Linked DNA regions of Homo sapiens: regions 2 and 3 are each linked to region 1. Evidence: promoter capture Hi-C in 16 types of primary human blood cells and fetal thymus (Javierre and others, 2016). All regions are on one chromosome and are shown on one strand. The core of a region is centred on a gene start or on the middle of the fragment in contact, and the rest is flanking DNA. Distances in the headings are between cores, read along the strand shown.

The links. The method cuts DNA at HindIII sites, captures the fragments that hold promoters and counts their contacts. A CHiCAGO score of 5 or more calls a contact.
Region 2: a fragment that was not itself captured here is called in contact with the fragment with the promoter of RNF182 in region 1 in 1 of 17 cell types (endothelial precursors); the score reaches 6.6 in endothelial precursors.
Region 3: a contact is called between a fragment that was not itself captured here and the fragment with the promoter of RNF182 in region 1, in 1 of 17 cell types (endothelial precursors). The highest score is 5.2, in endothelial precursors.

The regions. Positions count from the first base shown.
Region 1 is chr6:13,922,955-13,926,678 of GRCh38, reverse strand. It overlaps RNF182 (ring finger protein 182), which reads right to left and starts at 1,727. Exons shown (of 3, transcript NM_152737.4): 1 at 1,656-1,727. RefSeq lists an enhancer at 2,332-2,832. The HindIII fragment of the contact is 2,801 bases long and covers 1-2,302 here.
Region 2 is chr6:14,047,348-14,051,071 of GRCh38, reverse strand. No RefSeq gene overlaps it. Among named protein-coding and RNA genes, the nearest start is that of CD83, 69 kb to the left of the region's middle. The HindIII fragment of the contact is 1,182 bases long and covers 1,032-2,213 here.
Region 3 is chr6:14,022,715-14,026,438 of GRCh38, reverse strand. No RefSeq gene overlaps it. Among named protein-coding and RNA genes, the nearest start is that of CD83, 93 kb to the left of the region's middle. The HindIII fragment of the contact is 4,178 bases long and covers 1-3,724 here.

The sequences.
Region 1 (3,724 bases), core at 478-2,977:
TTAAGTGAGAAAATACTTTTCTCTCCCGTTTATCTTCTCAAAACAGATCTACTTCGTTTTAATCAATGTACGATTTTATTACCGTCATGAAAGAGTATTTAGCAGAGCATCTGTGAATCTTCCACAGGTAAAATTCAGTTTAAAAACAAGCCCAATTGTGAAATAACCTGCAAACTGTTAATTGCAACTTCAATCCTTTAGTTTCCAATACAATCTTCTAATGAAGTGGCATTACTTGAAGTTGCTGGCAAATATGAACAGACTGAGAAACCTAGTAATCAGCAGGCTAACAGGTGTTGAAATCCCAAAAGAGGGAAGAGGAATATTAAATAATCACTCTTTGCCTGACACCTCAAGTAGCTGTAATATGCAGAATTCCAATCAACTTAACTGCAATTCAAAATGATCAGTGGTACTGTTTTCATTAATTACTCTCTAGCAAAAATATAATTTCTTGCATTCCATATAGTTCTTTAAATGACCTATTCCAACTTATACATTATTTTACTAAGTTGGATATACAATTTTATATGTTAGATTATTTTCCAGTTATCAATATGACATCTCATATTGTTTAAATATGATTTAAAACAAATCTTATTAACATATATACAATTTCCTTCTGAATTGATCAACTGTATTTCTGAAAATGTATCTGTTTTCTTTCATATTACTACATGTAAGATGATGTCTAAGTACCAAAAAAAAAAGTCTTCACAGTCACAATTTAAATCTGTGCTTCGCGTCTGCAACAAACTATCACGAAATGATTGCAAGGGTTGGGGCCACTGAGAAAGGTACCTATAACCTATCCAGTGCCCCAGTGGCAACCGCATCGTGGTCCTCATCATCCCACTCATAAACACCGATGCAAACACCGCCCAGCTACCTGCCTCCAGAGGTGCTTTGGATTGCCTCCCTACACATAAAAACAAAAGGCACTTTCCAGTTCCTTACAGCATGAACACAATACCTTCTAGAAACAAAAGCAATGACCTCGGTGCCAAGTATCTCCTTGACAAAGTATCGGTACTGCTCTACATTCTGGTCTTGCTAGTCGGGGAAAGCCGGGCTACCCTTACCATCCAGTTATAGGTGCAACTGCACCTTCCAAAGAAAAAAAGGTCTTTCGATTCAATATCCAAACGAACTTCAGAAGCCTCCTCAAAATGCTTCAGCCACAGGCATAAAAATGGGCTCACTTTTCAGAGATTCGTAAAAATCTTTCGCTTGTCCCTCTTACTACCCTCCCAACCCCTCCTCAAAGAGAATGCCATGAAACATGAAAGTCCAAAGGTAAATACTTTCATACCTTTTTTTCCCCCAAAAGCCTCGATGGCACGCCAAGAAGGAAAATAACAACAACAACAGAGGGGCAGCTCCCTGAGCAGGTGCAGCCCGCGCGGGCGCTCCGCAGCCGCCCTCCGCCGCACAGCCCCTCAAGTTGGTGCCAGGACGGCGGCCCCCGTGGTGCCCGGAGGGAGACTCCGCGCGCGGGCCCCGGCGCCGCTCGGCCCGAAGTTTGCCGCCCCCTCTCCTCGGCGCGCTTGGGCGGCCCGGCGCCGTCCAGGACTGCGGGGCTGGCTGCTGCCCCAGCGTTGGGGAGGCCCGGCGTCCCGCCGACCCCTCCCCGGCCGCGGGCGCGATCGCCTTACCTGGCCGGCGGCGGCCCAGGGCCCGGGAGCCGCTCCGGCTGCGGCGGCGCCTGGGAGGGGAGGGAGGTTCCCGTGGAGGAGGAGCTCGCGCGAGGAGCTAGCGGGCTGGCGGGCGGGCGGCTTTGTCTCTACGGCGCTGAGCCGCCGACCCTGCGTCACCATGGCAACCGCCGGGGCCCCCCCGGCCCTTCCCCTCAGCAGTCCGGGTATTCGGAGAGGACAAGGACCCCCGATGGGCCGCCACCACCACAAACACGCCCCTCTCTCAGTCTCCCTCACAAACCGCCTGTTTCTCCCCAGCGAGAGGGGAAGGCTAAAGCGGAGCGAGCCCAGGGCCAAGTGGTATTCGCATCCTAGTAGGCACTCCTTTGCTTCCCCACACTGGACATTCCAACTCCCGTCGCACCACCATCCCCCCCACAGACACCCTCCACCACTACCACCACCACACCTTTCTCCTGTGGAGCTGTACCCTCAAAATGGAAATTCACTTAAGGGAGGAGAAAGAGCAATGCAAAGTGATAAAGTGTTGAGCAACTGGTACTCGGTTCTCCTGTTGCAACTGCCGCAGCATGCACGGAGCTGCCAAGGGACGCCGTGCCGCCTCCTCCCTCTCCCCCTCCTCCTCCTCTCTCTTTTAGCAAGCTTTGCCTCTGCTGGATGTGGTCTCACTCCACCCAACCCGTGTATCTGTCTTGTTGAGGGCTCCCGTAGGAGAGAGGGGAAAGGGGGCTTTATCTCTGATGTAAACACTGGATACACTTGTAACCTCAGAAGCTGAAACACAACTTTCAGGCTGCAGTATGGATCTCAGCTGCTGCCACACTGCGCAGCTACTGGCTGTGACCGCTAAGCATCTACCATGAGCCCTGAGTGACTCTGTGCCAAGGACTGGTCACGTACTGCAGGCCATGGCACTCAGGAGCAGAGAAAAGAAAGCTAACTTTTTCCTCTCCTGAGGAAATTCTTAGAGAGGGAGAGAAAAGTACCAGCAGACCCTTGGTCATGCTTCCTCTAAAGGACGAACTAGAGGGCAGCCTCCATGGGGGGAGTGAGTCATCCCTCCATACTGTTTTCTTGAAAGATCCGTTGCTGAATCCAAAAGCTACAGTGTCTTTCTTCAAACCCTGGGGAACATGACATTTATTTTTTGGCATTTGTGAATCACCAAAGGAATGTCAATGATTTATAATAAAATCCACGGTAGCTGATGTTTTCTGGGTTTACTACTTGAGAAGCCACAAAGCAGAACAATGTTATTGCCATTTGAAGGTACACCTATATTAACTAATGAAAAGATAAGATCTATTTCATGGTGGAAAAGGAAAACAGTTTGTTCCTCGGAGAGACTGGCCACTTTCTTGTAATGGGAATATTCTGAATGAAGTCAATAATATTCCAGATGAAGTCAAAAGACAAGGTCTTTTTGGCAGGCCATTAAGCATTTGGCAATACCTGCCAGAATTCAAAATGCACATACATTTCTCCCAGCTATCTCAATTCTAGAGATCTGTCATACAGAAACACACAAATGTGTAATGATAGATATAAAAGGATATGCATTGCAGAAGTTTTGTAATAGTAAATGTTTGAAACAACTTATATGCCCATCAATAGTGATATGGTTAAATAATGTGGCACTTCATACCATGTAATACTATGCATCCATTAATAAGAATAAAATATATAAAATTCATAGATATTGATTTCTTATTAAATGGAAAAGGGGGGCTCAGAACCGTATGTGTGGGTGATCCCATTCTGTACAAAAAAACTGGATATATAGGAACAGAACAAAAACATAGGGATAAAGGTCTATAAGAATGCCTACCTAATTGCTAGAAGTGGTAACCTGTTAACTACAAAAAAAATTGAAGGGACAGTTACCTCTTACGATGTACAATTTAGTACACATATTTGGTTTGTTTGGCTTTTTCAAATGAGCATTTATTAGTAATTTATCAATGAAGAAGCAAAAACAAAAAGCTTTAATAAATGTTTGTTGACCTGCATGCACATTACTGCCTGATCAAAAACTGAATACAGAACAGGGAGGGACCATTGACTTG
Region 2 (3,724 bases), core at 373-2,872, 120 kb before region 1:
GGTTTATGGTAGAAAAGGAAAGCCAGACTCCCCTGAGAGCCCTTCTAGGGAACAGATTGAGTCCCATCTGCACGAGCAATGGTGAATCAAAGGTGGGACTCAAGTTCCCAAGTCTGCTCCTTCACTCTGGGCAGCCTATTAGATTCATGTGCTTCTTGACAGCTTTGGACAAAAATGATCATGCCCCTCCTGATAGCACCAGACAGGTCAATGTGACATGCAGCCATCATGCCTCTGGATTTGGAGGCTCCCCAGGAGAAGCAGCTCAAGCCCGGCTTCGACATCCTGAAAGTGTTTCTGTGCCACCCCACAAGCTGCTGGTTGGTCCATCTCAGCTCCCCTCATTCACCTGCTCTGCCCTGCACTGTTTGGTAATCCAGCATTCTCTGCCACTCATTCTACATGCCTATCCACCCAGCCCAGCAGTCTAACCATGATGCTGGTGGTAAGGAAAAGAGAGAACAGGGGCTTTCAAGTGGAACTTGTATTGCTGTTAAATAAGAATCACTCTCCCTTAGATGTGTATATATGAATCTGTAATATGGACATAGATGGACAGAGATGTCTCCTTTTCCCTGTTCTAGCATTTGAGGCCACCTCCAAGCCCCACCCATGGTAAAGTGGAGAAGCACAGGGCCAGCAGTCTACAATGGACGTCATGGGCATGATTATGAGAAGACTGAGCAGGAGAGAGACCCCAAAGACAACGCTGCTCCCCGCAGCATAACTAGATGGCACAAGGAAGCACTGAGTTAATACTGGGTGTTGGGGAAAAGGTACGAAGGTGCAAGGGAGATACTCTAGAAAGGATACTGACTCTCTGTCTGAGATACTCACCAACCCATGTCAGCCTAACAAACTCCTACTTAATCTTTGAAGCCCAGTTCATAATGTCCTTTCTACACATTTCTGTAGCCCCATCTACCAGGACCTTCTCACAGATTTTTACTTTCTCCGTGTTCCTAGAACAGAAACAGCCATGATGTCTCAGTCAACAACAGATCACATATACCAAGGTGGCCCCATAAGCTTGTAACAGCATATTTTTATTGTATCTTTTCTGTATATAGATACACAAATAAGTACCATTGTGTTCCAATTGCCTACAGTATTCAGTACAGTAGCACGCTGTACAGGTTTGTATCCTGGAAACAATAGCCTATACCATATAGCCTAGGTGTGTAGTAGGCCATACCATCTAGGTTTGTGTAGGTACACTTTATGATGTTCGTGTAATGACAAAATTGCCCGACGATGCGTTTCTCAGAACATATCCCCATCACCAAGTGATGCATGACTGGATCTTGATTACCTGAATTTTACCAACTTCTTAAACGCTGACCCTAGAACTAAGTCCACCCTCAAATTATCCCCTAGTTATTTTTGTGGGTCCCCAAGGGCTCTCATAAAGGAGCTCAGCAACACCTCCATGGGTGAACTTCAGTTTTTGATACCCATATCTCCTTGAGGAGGTGCCCTTCTCTGCCCAGTGGCAGATGCCCTTGTGAAAATTCAACACTTCCTGGTCCAAATTGCTTCCCTGGGCTGCTCTGGCCTATGGCAGACCATGGGAAAATGGCTCTCCTTCTGCTCTGTGCCTTATTAGGTTGCAAGAGCCTTGAAACACTCCACTATGTGTACTCCAAGTCTTATTGACCCTCCTTTACCTCTGGTTGTGTTTCCTCTCATTGTAGGTCCAGCCTCTCAGACCAGGCAGCGAAGGGAGTCATGCCTTCCCCTCCACACTCCTGTCTTTCTCTTCAGCATCCTGGGAACCACGCATAAGCCTTTCCTCCTTCTTCCAGTCTGAAACAAACCAACAAAAGCAACAATGCCCCAACCTCTGTAAATTAATGACCTGGTCAGGGAAAGGTAACTAGCCCCATTCATACAATCTCTGGTCAGACTGGGTTGGAGACACACACCTTTGTACATTCCCTTGCCACATGCCCTAAGAACCTCTAATATAACACTTGTCACATTCACTGTGATTACGTCATCAAGGCTAGACTCCGAGATCTTTGAAAGCAGGGACCATAGACTATTCATCTTTGTGCCACTCTCCAATTCTGCACTCAATAAATAATCATCACGTCTAATATTTAATGAGTACTTAAAATGGATGAGTCAGTGCAGGCTAGGACTTCTATAATAAGAGCTCCCCATTCCTCCTCATCTGAGTTCCTAAATAAGTGTTTTTAGCTTTAAAAGCTTAGAAGGGTGAGCAATTAACCTTCAACTCCTTTCCCTACTCCTGGTATAAATTGTCAAACCTCCCGCAAACAAAAACAGTGCATAAAACCATCAGAGCTTGTGAGAACTCACTCACTATCTTGAGAACAGCATATGGGAAACAGCCCCCATTATTGAATTACCCCCCCACAACATGTGGGGATTGTGGGGCTTATAATTCAAGATGAGATTTAGGTGGGGACACAGCCAAACCATATCAGTTCAACAAACATTTCATTATTTGATAATTCTCCTTAAAAGAAGTTGACCGATTATTTCAGTTACCTCTCCAAGTGCTCTAAATTAGAAATGAGATATGTAGAAATCATCACTACAAATTTGACTACAATACAGTAATTTGTAAGGTGGGGTATTTGGGCGTGGGTATTTGAAGGTCAATCATTTCTACCCTCTGCAGGGTGTAGAATGCATGGAGTTTTACCCTATGTTGCTTAAAACATCTGCCAGACTCCCATGCCCACCTTCTTGATTTGGTTTTCTAGTTTGGTAGCAGTCCCAGCAAAGACCACAATGACTAATATTACCATTATTAAGAAGAGAGTTCCATGATCTTCTGGAACCATAAAATCTTTTTTTTTTTTTTTTTTTGAGACAGAATTTTGCTCTTTTTGCCCAGGCTGGAGTGCAATGGCACAACCTCGGCTCACTGCAACGTGCGCCTCCCAGGTTCAAGGGATTCTCCTGCCTCAGCCTCCTGAATAGCTGGGGCTACACGCACGTACCACCATGCCCAGCTAATTTTTTATATTTTTAGTAGAGATGGGGTTTCACCATTTTGGTCAAGCTGGTCTCAAACTCCTGACCTCAGGTGATCCATCCACTTCAGCCTCCCAAAGTGCTGAGATTACAGGCGTGAGCCACCATGCTGAGCTGGAACCATAAAATCTTATGGTTTCAGATCATTTAGTTCCACTAGTCCTCTCATACCTGAGTCTCCCAGTCCAATCCCTAATTCTCTAACAACAGTCTGCAGACAGCTGCCTCTGAATCATCAAGGAGCTTATTATCAAATAGAGATTCCTGGGACCTCCTCCTGGAGACTCTGGTTCAGTATGTCTGAGAAAGGACTAAGGAAAATTAGTTTTTATGATTAAATGCCTTCCATGATGTGCAAAGCAAACCAAAACTACTTCAGACAATTCTGAGATTTTTGTCAAGCTGAAATTTTTGCCTCCTACCTTCTACCAATTGGAAAGTTCTTTGGAACTAAACTGAACTAGTCTAATCTTTCTTCCACAGACAGCTCTTCAAATATTGAAGATAAGTGTGAATGATTTCCTAGGGCCAGTGTCCTCTAGATTATAAAGGGCTAGTGTCAACAGTTCTTCCTTCAATCATAGTGCTTTTTGGTCCAAATCTAGATTATGAACTTCTAAAAGGCCGGGACAATGTCTTATTAATCTTTTATCACGATACCCAATTCTTAGATATGCTTGATGCCCATTCATTTATTCAGCTAACATTCATAAAC
Region 3 (3,724 bases), core at 519-3,018, 100 kb before region 1:
GAGGCAATGAGACAGGAACTCCCTACTGATGGCTGATGTGACAGAACCCCACTGCTGCCAGGGAACAGCCAGGCACCCTGCGGTTGCTGGGTACTCAGGAACTCAGCTGTAATTGGGCCAGGAGTAGAACCTGCTCAGGTCAAAGGAGCCTTTGTGAAATTCAGCTCTGACCCATCACTCCCCTGCTCCATGATTTCTGATGCTTTCTTATTGCCTGCAAAATAGCTTGACCCACAAATTCCCTTACAATCTGGGATCATGGTTTTCCAGCTTCACTTCCCAATGCACCCCTATACAAGTCCTTCCTCTAACCACCCAGAGACTAGCAACTATTCCTTGCACACACCAGGAACTTCAGTAGCTTTGGGCCCTTGTCCATCTCTGTGTACTCCCAGAATCCTGTTCCTGTGTCTTAGCACATTTCATTGTAATTAGCTGTTTACCTGCCTGGATTTTTGATGTCCTCAAAGACACATTCAGTCTCTTAATCATCTTTCCATTGCCAATCTCTGCAAAGTAGTGGGAACACTGTAAGCCTTCAATGCATATTTGTTTTTAAAAAGTTGGTCCAGAAAGTTGATGACCCATATCAAAGATGAGGGCTTAGGGTGTGAACCATGGTCAGGAATGAACAAGGAGACACAAGTTCAGAAAGTCATAATGAAGCTGCAGAAATCACGAAGGGCTTCATCAAGAAAATCACATTTGCATTGTGCCCTGGAGGACGATGAGATTTCAGCAGGTAGAGATGTGGAGGGTATTCCTGTGGTAGAACCCCTTAAGGAAAAGCAGAGAAGTGGGAAGGTACAGAGAATGTTCAGGAAGAGTGGATACAGTTTTCCTAGAACAGAGACTAAGTGAAGGTGGGGTGGAGCAGGTGCTGGGAAGGCAGCAGGGGCCAGATCATTGCAAGTGGCAACGCCAGCCTCAGCGCCATGGGTGTTTTCAGATGCTGTGGTAAGCCATGGGAGGCGGTCTATGCGAAGGGGTTGGGGAGTGATGTAATGATTGAGGTTGGGCTGTCACTTCTGCCTTTGCCAGGAAAGTTATTAGAGTGAGGTTGCTAATGTGGCAGTTGTGAGGGGTGAGCTCACTGACGCAAGAGTGAATTAAACATTCGGGATGGGCCCGGGAAGCCACCTTCACTATCATTCATTGCCAAACCCTAAACGGGGCCACAGATCTGACTGCTTCAGTTTCACTTATTGGTGTCATTTAGATACTGTCTGATAGAGGAAGTAGAGGAAAATGTTTCAAAAGCTGAAAGACCTAGACAATGGCTATGCCTTAGTCTTGGCAGCAAATGCAAGCGAACCCAAAGATGGGCAGGATGTCATCAAGTTAGTCCTCAGTGTGAGTAGAAAGGCTGTGCTCAGGCTGCTGGGGCTGCGGTGCACACCTTAGCAGGGACCCGAGGGCTGAGCTTTCAAAGGCCCCTCTTCCGGAGGCTGAGGATCAGTCTGTCCTACAGCTCTACACTTCCAGCCTCTGCATCACTCCTGTCAGTGTCTGCAGAAACCTCAGGGAAAGGAAGAGCTTGGGCTCCTGTAAAAAAAAAGCACTCACTGAGAGGCAGAGGGCTCGCAAATAGGGCTGCTGCCTACTTTGTTCTTCTAACTCCTTCCCTTCCCCACCCTTCATTGTTTTTCTTCCCTTAGTTCAGTCTCAGATATGATTGTGAATGCAGAGCTCCAAACAATGCCCTTTTCAAGTGATTTGCCTCAGCCTGGAGCATCCAGGGAAGAGCAGATCCCCATCCCACCACTCAACAGCTCCCCTACTTTCCCCAAGCCCCACTCACCACAGCTGTTAGCAATGCGGTCCCCATGGCCTCCCATCTAAGGCCTATACCTCCTCTGCAGATCAGACTGAGAGCTCCTGCAGGCAGGAGCTGGGCAGGCTTGTTTTCTGGGCTCCCCACTCCTGATTAGTATGGTCTTCAGGCACTGGTGGTCCAGTTTTATGGACCAGGGTGAGATGCAGGCAGAAGTGTGCAGGTATTTGCATAAAGCTCTGCACATAGAACACTCAGCACCGCTGTTTTGGGATCTAGGACAAAGCCTGCCCCACCGTGTACAGCCCCAGGGAGCAAAATGGCAGCGTGGTGCTCCACTCTATCCCGGTTTTATTCTCAGCTGGGTTCTGAAGCCCCAGCTGCAGCCAGTTTGATATGATTGAAGCAGAGCTTCAGGGAGGAGAAAGGAGGCAGAGGACTAAATATCCCATAATATTTCTTCCATTAAAGTCTTTCAATGAGGGAAAAAATCAACAAAATGGTTTTTCCATTTTGAAAAAGAAAAAGACAAAGACAAACCCAGCAGGAGATTGAGAAAATGAATGAAAGGCTTATTAAGCAGGGAAGTATTTTGTTTACTTCCTGCAGGCTGCATTCCACAATTACTACCTTTCTTCTATTAACAAAAATCACGGCCAAATGATGGGATAAATTGTCTGCCTGAGCCTCGTAAGGATTTACTGAGGCAAAACCTCAAAAAAAGAGCATGTGGCGGGGTGCTGCTTCTTCCAGCAACACTGTAGGTGGCAGGTGATTCCAAGGGCTATGCTGATCCCACTGCCCAAGATAAAGCATTTGGGACATTACAGCCTCCCTCCATCGAAACTAAAATAATGAAGACTGATGAAAAAACAACAGCAACAACAACACTGTATTTTGACCCTTAAGAGCCAAGGAGGTGCCGGGCACGGTGGCTCATGCCTGTAATCCCAGCACTTTGGGAGGCCGAGGTGGGTGGATCACCTGAGGTCAAGAATTGGAGGCCAGCCTGGCCAACATGGTGAAACCCCATCTCTACTAAAACTACAAAAATTAGCTGAGCATGGTGGCAGGTGCCCGCAATCTCAGCTACTCAGGAGGCTGAGGCAGGAGAATTGTTTGAACCTGGGAGGTAGAGGTTACAGTGAGCCGAGATCATGCCACTGTACTCCAGCCTGGGTGACAGAGCAAGACTCCGTCTTCAAAAAAAAAAAAAGAACCAAAGAGGGATGCCTACCTTGTGAGCAGTAAGGCCACACTGGCTCTGCCATTCTGAAGCCAGGAGCTCCTGGGGCCACACCCTGAGGACGGCCCATCCTGGGTGCTAGAACAAGAGAAGCGGACCCTCCGCAAGGTCTGCCATTCACTGCACTACCCGATTCAATCCTCGCTCCAGTCCATTCTCACACTGCTATACAGATACTACCAGAGACTAGGTGATTTTTAAAGAGAAGAGGTTTAATTGACTTACAGTGCCACATGGCTGGGGAGGCCTCAGGAAACTTAAAATCGTAGCAGAAGGTGAAGGGGAAGCAAGGCACATCTTACATGGCAGCAGGAGAGAGACAGCATAGGGGAAGCTGCCACTTTTAAACCATCAGATTTCGTGAGAATTCCCTCACTATCACAAGAACAGCACAGGCGAAACTGCCCCCATGACCCAATCACCTCCCACCAGGTCCCTCCCTCCAAACGTGGGGATTCCAATTCGAGATGAGATTTGGGTGGGAACACAGAGTCAAACCATATCAATGATTATCTCCATTCTTCAGATAAGAAAACAGAAGTCCAGAGAGGTTAAGTAACCTATCCAAGCTCACACAGCTAGTAGAATTTGAAGTCAGGCCTGTCTGAGACCAAGGCTTGAGGCTCTGACTTTTTGAAGCCCCGCCAGTTGCTCACTTCAGGGTGAGGGACCAAGGGGAGGAATATCACAAGCTGGAGCCTAAG